Linked DNA regions of Homo sapiens: region 1 is linked to region 2. Evidence: promoter capture Hi-C in 16 types of primary human blood cells and fetal thymus (Javierre and others, 2016). All regions are on one chromosome and are shown on one strand. The core of a region is centred on a gene start or on the middle of the fragment in contact, and the rest is flanking DNA. Distances in the headings are between cores, read along the strand shown.

Region 1 (5,486 bases), core at 1,337-3,836, 630 kb after region 2:
TATCAGTCCCTTGTATTTACCTGGTCACCCTCCATCTCTGAGGGTATGGGGGCCAGATGGCTCTTGCTGCCCTGATGTTTTGGGGGGTCTGCCTGGGCCCCTCCTGGTGTGTCACACGCGTCCAGTCCTGGCCCCCTAGGAGGCAGCATGGCGGGAGCTGGAGGCCGAGCGGGCCCAGCTGCAGAGTCAGCTGCAGCGTGAGCAGGAGGAGCTGCTGGCCCGGCGGAAGGCTGAGAAGGAACAGCTGAGTGAGGAGATTGCTGCCCTGCAGCAGGAGCATGACGAGGGCCTCCTCCTGGCCGAGAGCGAGAAGCAGCAGGTTCGTGAGCCCTGGCGTGGCCTCTGCTGCTCTCTGAGCTGCTCCAGTTCTGGGGCCGGGCCCTGCTCTGCCACTTGGCAGCTAGGAGCCCTGGGGCAGGCCACTGCCCTCTTGGGGGCCTCAGTTTCCTTACCTGCAGGAGGGGAGGATTAGAAGGGGGTTCGTGAGGCTTTGCTGTGCTCCATGCCTGGCACACAGTGAGCACTTACTGAGTGACAGTGACAGTCGTGACACCAGGAAAGCTGTTCCATATTCTCCCATGCCTCGTCCCACCCCACGCTGGGCATGGATCCTCATGGCTGCCTTCTGAGCAGTCCCCACGATGCCCACAGGCATCAGCTGACGTGTCCCCCCAAATAACAAATCCCTAACTTTCCTATAATGTAACGGAGACAGGGCAGACTGTGCCCATCTCCTCTCCTCACCAGCTGTGTACCTGGGCGAGTCACTTTACCTCCTTGAGCCTCAGTTTCCTCATCTGTAAGATGGGTAGAAAGAAAGACTCTGCAGTCAGGGTGCTGTGGCGGGTTAGTGAGCTCTATGAGTGGTATCCACGTCCGGGATTCTTGTGACTGCCGTTGTGCCCTTTTCCAGGGCTGCATGTCTGCCCTGGGTCCACCTGCAGTGGCACACTCAGGCCTCTAAGCCCCCAGTGGGCACATTTCCTAGGCAGCAAGAAGCCTGAGCATGCCCCCAGGACCAGCCCATCCCCCAAGCCCTTTGTCCCCTGCCTCTGCCCAGGCCTTGTCTCTGAAGGAGTCTGAGAAGATGGCGCTGTCAGAGAAGTTGATGGGTACACGGCACAGCCTGGCCACCATCTCCCTGGAGATGGAGCGGCAGAAACCAGATGCCCAGAGCCGGCAGGAGCAGGACCGGGTAGGCCTGCCGTCGTAGGGAGGCTTGCGGAGCAGGAGCGCCCTCTCTCCACCGAGCTATCCCGCGGTTTCCAGCATCCCATCTGGCGGACTCCTCTTCCTCTCTCTTCTCCTACTCTGGGTCTTCTATCCTGGTGTTCCTTGAATGCCTATCTTCCTTTTGTGCCTCGGAACCTCTCACGCCTGCCACAAGTTACTCTTTTCCTTGGTAGTTCTGAACTTTAAATAAGGTAATGCCTGTAAGAATGCCATAAATGCTCAATAATTGTCATCTGTTATTATTTTCATCAGTAACATCATCTGAATCATCAGTATTGTCTGCTTTTAACAGCTGCATTTTTCATTGTCCAAATATAGTCACATACATTTGACCATTTTATAATTATTGAATAATAAATTTGTTCTGCTATTTTACAATGAAAAATAATGCTGCAGAGAGCATTTTTGCACATGTATCGTGGCAGATGTAGGCCAGAGGCTCTTCTTTTATCCATCCTATGGCCAACCTATGAATGTATACACGTTTAATGAGATTTTGCCAGCAATCAAAGCCTTCAGGGAAAATGTCCCTAGCTCTTTACTACATCAGATCAAGGACTCTGGATAATTGGCATAACATCCTGGAATAGCTGAAACAGAGATATTATTCTCTGCTCTCCTCTGTTGTCTTTGTCTTTTCACGTCTTAATAAAAGTGCTGGTGACAAGAGTGTAACTATGTCAGTGTTCTCCTGCTGTCCTTGCCTGTGTGGGTCTTCTCCCAAACCCGACTTTCCTCCAGCGGCTTCACTGAAAAAGAGGAGGGGGCTGTGGGGGGTGGGTCGGGGAGCAGAGGAGGAAATAAACTGGATAGGGAGGAAGCTTCTCACAGGCCCGGAGAGGGTAAGGAAGGGAGTCAAAGACAGAATTTTCTTCAGCAAACAGTAAAAGGGGAAATCTGGGGATGCTAAGAGTTTTTAAACCCTTTGCTCCATCACATAAGTAATCCATGATTTTCTGTTCCACAAATCAGGACTCCTACTCCTCCCTCCCTCCCCATCCCCAATCCTGATTCCTGTTTACAAAGAATGTTGAAAAACAAGGAATTATGTATAACAGTTCCCAGTTTGCTCAGGAAATTCTCAGATTATAAAGAGACATTACAAATGAACAAGTGAAGAGAAGAACCTTGGTGGTTCCAACATAGTATGGCCATTGTTTTATACTCAAAATATAGAAAGACAACCTCAGAATAAGAAAACTTTTGGAATGGAATAAATCAAGTTTATCATTAAAATGCAAAGAAAAAAACTCTCCAAATGTTGCTGATCTTCTATTTTAAACTACTGTTAGACCGGAGAAGCGGAGAGCAGGGGAATCCGCCAAAGAGTTTTGGATGAAAATTAATCAGCCCTGTCTACCGTAGTCACACCCCACTGCCCTTGAGACCCAATCCTTCGGAAGGAGTGTCCAAGAGGTATAAAGCAAAACGAAAAAACAGTTCGCAAATTCCAGAGTTCGTTTTCTCTCATTAAAAATATAAATATCAGGCTAACACATGTTGACACACAATAACAGGGACACAGAATCCCTCCTGGAAGACCGACGGGCCCACGGACCCCACGGGTGCCACGGTGGTGGACGAGGTTAAGTAACTTGGTTCAGGGTGTCTGGGCACACCTCTGCGTGAGACTCTGTCTCTGCTGCTCCTCTCATCTCTACGCCGATTCCTCCCCACAATCCTCCCTTTTCCTTGGGCCCCCGACGCCTCTCCGACCAACAGTCTCCCCAGCCCCGCAGCTTCTCTCTTTCAGACCTTTACTTCTTGATCCTCACTCCATAGTGAGATGTGGCCTTTCAGCAAATAAATTGTGCTCAGGGAGACTGAAAGAAAGGGGTAAACCAGGATTAGTGCTGCAGGGTCAGAGCTAATGACACAAGCTTCTCTCCTCAGGCCTATTCATTTGAGATGCATCTCAGGCACTTAGGCACAGCAGTGCTAAGTTAGTACCAATTATATACATGCACACATAAATATATAAAAGCATATAAATATTACATATGTAAATATAAATTGTACCAATAAAATCGACATCAAGCTTGTTTTTAATCATTCACTCAAAATACATTGAACAGCTACTGTGCAAAGTCTTGGGACTGCTTAGAAACTTAAGACAAAAATATTGGGCCTGTAGTCCCAGGTGAAGCCTAGGCAGGAGGATGGCTTGAATGAAGGAGTCCAAGTCCAGCCTGGGCAGCATAGTGAGACTCAGTCTTTTTTTTTTTTTTCTCTGAGATGGAGTCTCACTCTGTCGGCCAGGCTGGAGTGCAGTGGCACAATTTTGGCTCACTGCAACCTCCACCTCCCAGGTTCAAGCGATTCTCCTGCCTTAGCCTCCTGAGTAACTGGGATTACAGGCACGTGCCACCACACCTGGCTAATTTTGTATTTTTAGTAGAGATGGGGTTTCACCATGTTGGCCAGGCTGGTCTCGAACTCCTGACCTCAAGTGATCCACCCACCTTGGCCTCCCAAAGTGTTGGGATTACAGGCATGAGCCACCGTGCCCGGCCGAGACTCAGTCTTTAAAATAATGAAGTAAAATAAAAACATAAACCTCAAACAAAAAGACAAACTATGATTTCAATCATTGTGAAGCTCTTGATCTAGTAGATGATATATATATATATATATATACATATACCAAAAATACTATAATTTCAGAGAAGTGCTATAGAGTCTAATGTTTAACAACTTCTGGCATTTGACTGATGGTGTTTAAAGCTCTTCCCGCATTTTCCAGGGGTATAAATCGAGGCAAGTTATTTGGTATTTACTGCATTTTGGCTTCTTCATATGCAAGGGGGTTATGATAATAATACCTACCCCATGAGGACGGTATGAGGACTAAAGAAAATCGTGTATGTATAGCCTCGGCCAATGCCCATAGACACTGAGTACTCAACTAGGTGTTAGCTAGCAGATTTTAAATTTGCATTTATTCGTATAGTTTTTAAGGTAAAATTTACATTCATTGAAATGTTAACTGTATGTTTTTTGACAAATGAATACACTTATATAACTCATATCCCTATCAAGACAGAGACCATTTTTACCACCCAGAAATTTCTCTCATGTAACTTCCCAGTCAATCCCCTGCCAGAGGGAACCACTGCTATGATTTTTTCACCACAGATTAATTTTCCCCTTTCTAGAATTTCAAATAAATGGGAAGGTATGTGCTCTTTTGTGTCATTTATCTTCACAGACTTTGAAATAAAAAAGTTACAATTTTAAACCTTTTGGGCATTTAGTAAAAATCTCCTTCCCACCAGTAGCCACCAGTCACCAGTCTTCATTTCTCTCTCTCTCTCTCTCTCTCTTTGAGACAAGATCTTGCTCTGTCATCCAGGCTGGAATGCAGTGGCATGATCATGGCTCACTGCAGCCTCAACCTCCTGAGCTCAAGCAATCCTCCCACCTCAGCCTCCCAAATAGCTGGGAGTACAGGTGCCCGCCACCACGCCTGGCTAATTTTGCTTGTATTTTATGTAGAGACAGGGTCTCACCAAGTTGCCCAGGTTAGTCTCAAACTCCTGAGCTCAAATGATCTGCGGGCCTTGGCCTCCCAAAGTGCTTGGATTACAGGTATGAGCCACTGTGCCTGGCTCAGTCTTCCTCTCTTAAAGCAACCAATGTTATTAGTTTTATGTGGGCCACCCCATGGCTTATCATTATTAATTCAGGTGTTTATACAAGGCTCTTTGAGAACTCAGTTTTAAAGGTTACCCAAAGCATCCTAAGACAACTCAGCCTAAAACGATATAAAATCAGTTTTAATATAACTGAAGTTTCTACATTCTGACTCCAACTGTCAGATTGTGACATTTTCTCTTTCTCTGACTTTATGCCAAATTTACTTCAACTTCTAGCATCCATCATTCTCATTTATGAACAAATATGTATTTAACAAATGTGGAAATACAAATCATGAAGCAAACAAAACCAAACCCTGGGCTTACGTAGCCGATAGTAAAAAATTCACCAAAATAACCACCCGATTACAGTTTCATGCAATGTGATAGGAGTAAGGGACCACCATAGGGAGGTCAGAAGGTGCTTTTCAGAGGTGGAGACTACAGCTGTTCTCAGAAGAATAGGGGTTAGAAGAACTTTCCAGGCACAGAGCAAAGCATGAGCAAAAGCTCTGTGGAGGCCAGGAAGCTGGTAAATAGGGAATAAAAGAGGCCAGTTTGGCTGGAGCAGAGAGAGCAGAACAGAATTGGTCTGAGTAGTGAGAAGAGATGAAGAAG
Region 2 (5,924 bases), core at 2,018-4,517:
GACTTTGTGCTAAGGTTTGTGCTGATGCCTGAGCCTTGAGAAAGAGCTGTGTGGAACCAAGCAAACCACCTGGGCTGTGGAACTTGATGGGATCTGGGTTCAAGCCCTATAGCCCTGTGGGATAGCACTTGTCAGACCACCATCCCGCTGAGCCTGCCTCCAGTTGCAGGGAGGAGTTAATCAGCCACCAGACGCCCAGTGCATGGCTCAGTGCACCAGGGTACCCTTCCTTCCCTTTCCCCATCCTAAGACTCACTGCTCAAGAAAGAAAAGCCCCCATACCATGCCTGGGTCATCTCCAATTCATGGAAAGGCAAGAAGATAAAGTTGAATCCACTGCCACAGATAGAGAGGCCCAACAGACTTGCTTGTCCTCATCCTTCAAGGGTCTGATTGGTGCCCCTCCTCCAGGAAGACTGCCCTGACTCAGCCATGAGTCAGATGTAAATTTCTCTTTTCTCAACTCCTTCTCCCAATACGGTCCAGAGACTGTTCCCCAGACATCCTGCATATGGCAGGTTTGGGGATGCTTGAGGCTGTCCACAGGCCCAGGACAAAGCCTTAAACTGATGATGATGATAATGGTGACAGTTAACATAACTGAATGTTCACCACAAATCAGTATTAGTTACATGCTTTGCACACACAATCTCATTCAATGCCCCTAACTGCCCTTTGAAGTAAGGCCAAACTGGGTTACATCCTGGCTCTGCCACTCACTGGCCATGTGACCTTGGACAAGTTGTTTAACCTCTCTGTGCCTTTGTTTTCTTATCTATAAAATGACGATGATGACAGTGCCCACTTGAGAATTTTGTGAGAATTAGTTAACATATGGAAAGCGCTTACAGGCACTGCTGGGGAGTGGCATTCAGTGCCATTGCTGATATTATTATCATCCCCAGGCAACAGGTGAGGAAACAGAGACTCAGAGAAGTTAAAGGAGTTTCCCACGGTCAGAGAGCTGGGAAGTTGCAGAGCCAGGACTGAGCCACAACACCTACTGCCCTTTCTCTTGTTGGCCCGCAGGCTGAGGACCCAGGATTGTTACATCATGGCACCTCCAAGCCGGGAGGGACCTCAGAACTAACTCAGTCCTGCTCCCCTTCCCAGAAAGGAGTCCTTTCTGTGGCACCCTTGTAAGAAGGTTGTCCAGCCTCTGCTGGCTTCTCAGAGAGGAGGAGCTGCTTGTTCTCCCCTGTATGTGTCCCCAGAGCCTGTGCTCATCCTTCAAGGCTCTGAATGGTACACACACTAGACCCAAAAGAAATACTTGAAGAATATGTGAATGAACGAACTAGGAGCTCTCCACTCCCACCCCTGGGGGGTTTGGCCACCAGGGCCCAAGAATCCCTCATTTGAAGGTATCAGAGCTTCCATCCCCCACCCTGTGGCTGTCCCACCGATGGCCTTCTCTGCAAACCTCCAGTGTGGCTCAGGTGACTCCAGGAAGCTATGGCCTTTATCTCTTATTGCCCCAATCCATCCTCTATCCTCTAAGGAAGCTCTGCGGGGGAGGAGCCAGGCCCAGGCTTCCTGGGACAGGTCAAACCGGAGACACATCTGCCCAACGGGCACGAGGCAGCAGGGGCAGGTGAGTCACCCCATGGCACGCAGCCCAGTCACCCCATGGCAGGCAGGCAGTGGTGCCAAGTGGCAGATACCCCTCCTTCCTCATTACCTCCTTGGCACAGCCTCCGTGGCTGCCCCTTCCTTCAAGAACCACTGAATCCCCTTCCTCCTCCTACTGCCCACCCACCAATACCAGGATTTATTTCCTGGGCTGGCTCTGCTCCCGACTTGGTTCCCTCCCATGACCAGCTCCTCACCCCCTCTCATCCAATGCCCTGGATCAACCCCATCGCTGCTCCCGACTAAGTTCGCCCTGATTTTTCGAGTCTTAGTCTTGGAGACTCGTTCTCAATGGGTGGGCTATTTTCTTCCCACCCCAGGGCACATTTGGCAATGTCTGGGGACATTTTTGGTTGTCACAACTCGGGAGTGTGCTGCTGGTATCTAGCAAAGAGAGGCCCAGAATGCTGCTCTCCATCCTACAGTGCACAGGGTGGCCCCCATGACAAAGAGGTATCGTGACAGCAGTGCTGAGGTTGAGAAACCTGGCCTGAGGAGAGGGCTGGGAGACTTGAGAGGTGAGAGCTGTCCCACAGTTCTGCACCCTCCCCTCCCAGTATCCTGATTACCTCCAAGCCAGGACCCTGGATTCTCCCCAAAAGCCTAAGAAGCCAGCTCCCTGGTGGTCCCCAGAGCCCAGCTCTTAAAACCCTACCCTAACCCTCTTTTCTTCCTAAGAGAGAGAAGATAAGGCCTTACCTCCCTCTACCATGGGCCTCAAAGGCATGACCTGGCACACAGTAGGAGCATAATGCATGGGCATTGAGTGTCTAGAGGAAACCAGGTTGGAAATCTTTATTTTCCAAGTATCAGAGCAGCTAAAACCATAAGACTCCTGAGTAAGACCACAAGCGGGTTTAAACCCTGGCTTTGCCACTTAGTAACTGTGTGACTTGAGCAAATGGCTTGCCCTCTCTGCCTCGGTTTTCTCATTTGTCTGATGAGATGATGCTAATAATAAGCCTAGCTCACAGGGTTGTTGTAAGGGTTAAATTCAAGATTAAAGTTCAAAACTTAACTCAAGAGACTTGTGAAGCTCTTAGAATAGTGCCTGGCACATGGTAAGTGCTATGTATTAACTTATTTTTTAAAAATGATTCATGCTCTGTTTCTAGGCTCATAGGCTCAGGATGGGGCTGGGGATATCTGCCTGTTCCTATTCTTGTGTGCCCCAGACAGATCCTCAGCCCAACCTGCAGCATCCCTTGGACATAGAAAAGTGCCATCTCTTCGCGGCACCAGCCCCCTCCAAGCCCCCGGTCTGGAGCTCAGTCACTGAAGCCTCTTCTACCTGGCTCAGCCTCCCAAACTTCAAATTCCCTGGCTAAGGTCTTCAGGAAACTCAGTAGAGCAAGAGGAGGACCCAAGCTTCCCTGATTGGCTGCTGTTCCGAGGCCAAGGCTGGGGAGTGGGCCCTGAAGAAGCCCTGCCCAGCCTGCAGGGAGGAAGGTCCAAGGGCATCAGCACCAAGGGCCTGCAAACCACTAGGCCTCTGACTCTTACCCATAAATGTCCACGAGGGTCTCCACGCCAGCCACACACACCGCGCTGGTGGGATGCTCCAGGGACACACGCACGATTCTCTGCAGCGACATGCTGGTGTTGGACTTAGCTGTGGCCGCCAACCCCAACACTGCCCCTGAGGCCCCTTAGGATGAGGTTTAAAAGCCCCTGGCCCCACCCCTCCAGCCCAGGGTGCCAATTCATTGGCTCCAGTCATGAAAGCCCAGCCCCTTCCCAGAGCTGAGAGCTCAGGATTGGCTGGAAGGGACCCAGTATTTGTATACGAACCTGTTGTCCCGACCCCGGCACCCAGGAAGTTAATTTCTTGGGAAGCAAGTCCCCACAGGTACCTGGCTAGGCACCAGGAACTGTTGGGGGCAGGTGCTGTTGAGGGGGTGCAGAGATATATGATATTGATCTCGGACGCTTCTTGCTTCCTCACCTCCATTTTCTGCATTTTCAGAGACTATAATGGGGAGCTTTCTTACTCTGCTGGGGAAGCTGGTGAAAATGCGGATTCCCAGGTCTGTTGTCCACTCTGATCCAGCAGGTTAGGGGTGCAGCCTGGCCTCTGGATTTTTTTTTTTTTTTTTGAGACGGAGTTTCACTCTTGTTGCCCAGGCTGGAATGCAATGGTGCGATCTCGGCTCACCGCAACCTTCGCCTCCCAGGTTCAAGCAATTCTCCTGCCTCAGCCTCCCGAGTAGCTGGGATTATAGGCGTGTGCCACCACTTCCGGCTAATTTTGTATTTTTAGTAGAGACGGGGTTTTTCCATGTTGGTCAGGCTGGTCTTGAACTCCAGACCTCAGGTGATCCACCTACCTCGGCCTCCCAAAGTGCTGGGATTACAGGCATGAGCCACAGCACCCGGCCCTCTGGATTTTTTAATAAGCACCCCCAAAGCATTTTGGTGCCCTTTGAGAAACACCAACTTTTTTTTTTTAATGGATTTTAGAGCCAGACCTGGGTTTCAGCCCTGCCTCAGCTGCTTCCTGGATGGGCGACCTTGGGCAAGTTTCTTTTTTTTTTTTTTTTTGAGACAGAGTTTCGCTCTGTCACCCAGGCTAGAGTGCAGTGGCGTGATCTCGGCTCACTGCAAGCTCCACTTCCCGGGTTCACGCCATTCTCCTGCCTCAGCCTCCCGAGTAGCTGGGACTACAGGCGCCTGCCACGGCTCCCGGCTAATTTTTTGTATTTTTAATAGAGGCGGGGTTTCACCGTGTTAGTCAGGATGGTCTCGATCTCCTGACCTCTTGATCCACCCGACTTGGCCTCCCAAAGTACTGGGATTACAGGCGTGAGCCACCATGCCCGGCCGGGCAACTTTCTTAATTGTTCGTGCCTCACTTTTCTCGTCTGAAAAATGGTTGCTGTGAGGCCTCAGGGGCCAGCGTTGGTAGAGCTCTGGTATGGAGCTTGGCGTTATTGTATTACTATTGTTGCTGTTATTAGGTCCCAAAAACCTCTGAAAGCGGTAAATGATGAGGGTGAGAACTCTCTCCAGCCAGGGGGAGCTTGGCATGTCAGAGTAGGAAAGCTCAGTCGTCAGGTGGGAAACCGAAGTCAGAGGGGCATTCAGGCTCCTGGAAGAGCAGGAGCAAGGGCTCTGGGGAGAGAAGTCTTGGGTTCAGAGGCAGGCTCCACCGTGCACCCACTATAGGGCCTTGGGTGTCAGTGTCCCCCCTCTTGGAGACTCGGTTTCCTCATCTGTAGAAAATGCAGCTAATCACTGGCCCTGGCGGAGATAATAGTGAAGACGCACCCTGCCTGGCGGAGGCTCAGGAGGTGCTGAATAGAGGTTTCCTCCCTTCTCCCTGGCAGTGCTGACAGCCTGAGACAGGATGGGGACCAGGACCCGCTCCCCAGCATCTCCAGCTGGGACATCTGCACCAGTTCAAGGGCCTCAACAGGACCCTGAGATTGTCATTCCCATGTCTCAGTTTTTGGGAAAGATGTTCTTTTCAAGGAGAACTGCTGGGCTTCTGGGTCAAGGGACAGCTTCACTTTTTTCAGCTGTGGAATGGCTTGATGGCTGAGTCAGCCTTGGGAGCCCTGGGTAAGAGTTCGAGCTCAGGAGGAAGCCTTAGTCTCCCTAGCCTTCTTGTGAGCACAGATGGGGAATAGATGCAGAAAGTAGGGGCTTTCCCTGGGGTGCTGGCCCACTACCTGCCTCTTTCTCGGAGAACTGTATATGTCTTTGGAAGGAGACTCATGCCTTCACTTCTCCTCTGTTAATACCAACTTTTAGAAACAGGTTTGTGGTTAATTCAGACTAAAGTGTCAATGACTAATAGGCAGCAACTTTTTGCCCTCTTACTCCACAACAAAAGCTAAAATAAAGTGAGTGAGTATCAAACGGTGTAATTTGAGGCAGCAGCAAATGTGTAGGATGAGAGGGTGATGATTTCAGGCATCCAAAATCAGACCACTGAAGCCAGGTAACTTAGAAGCTTCAGACACAAAAATGGAAGGGAATTGGGCCAGGCACAGTAGCTCACACCTGTAATCCCAGCACTTTGGGAGGCCAAGATGGGAGGATCGCTTGAGCCCAGGAGTTTGAGACCAGCCTGGGTAACATAGCAAAACCCCAGCTCCGTAAAAAATAAATTAGCAATTAGCTGGGCATGGTGGCCTGTGCCTGTATTCCTAGCTACTCAGGAGGCTGAGGTGGGAGGATCGCTTGAGCACAAGAATTCAAGGCTATAATGAGCTGTGATAGCACCACTGCACTCCAGCTTGGGTGACAGAGCAAGACTCGGTCTCAAACAAAAGAAAAGAAAACAAAAC

The links. Contacts are between HindIII fragments. The CHiCAGO score rates a contact against its expected background, and 5 or more counts as called.
Region 1: a contact is called between a fragment that was not itself captured here and the fragment with the promoter of PADI3 in region 2, in 1 of 17 cell types (neutrophils). The highest score is 6.1, in neutrophils.

The regions. Positions count from the first base shown.
Region 1 is chr1:16,614,678-16,620,163 of GRCh38, reverse strand. It overlaps the pseudogene CROCCP2. Among named protein-coding and RNA genes, the nearest start is that of NBPF1, 3.9 kb to the right of the region's middle. RefSeq lists enhancers at 1-274, 275-942, 943-1,611. The HindIII fragment of the contact is 1,059 bases long and covers 2,057-3,115 here.
Region 2 is chr1:17,246,441-17,252,364 of GRCh38, reverse strand. It overlaps PADI3 (peptidyl arginine deiminase 3), which reads right to left and starts at 3,267. Exons shown (of 16, transcript NM_016233.2): 1 at 3,136-3,267. The coding sequence starts at 3,227. The HindIII fragment of the contact is 2,587 bases long and covers 3,003-5,589 here.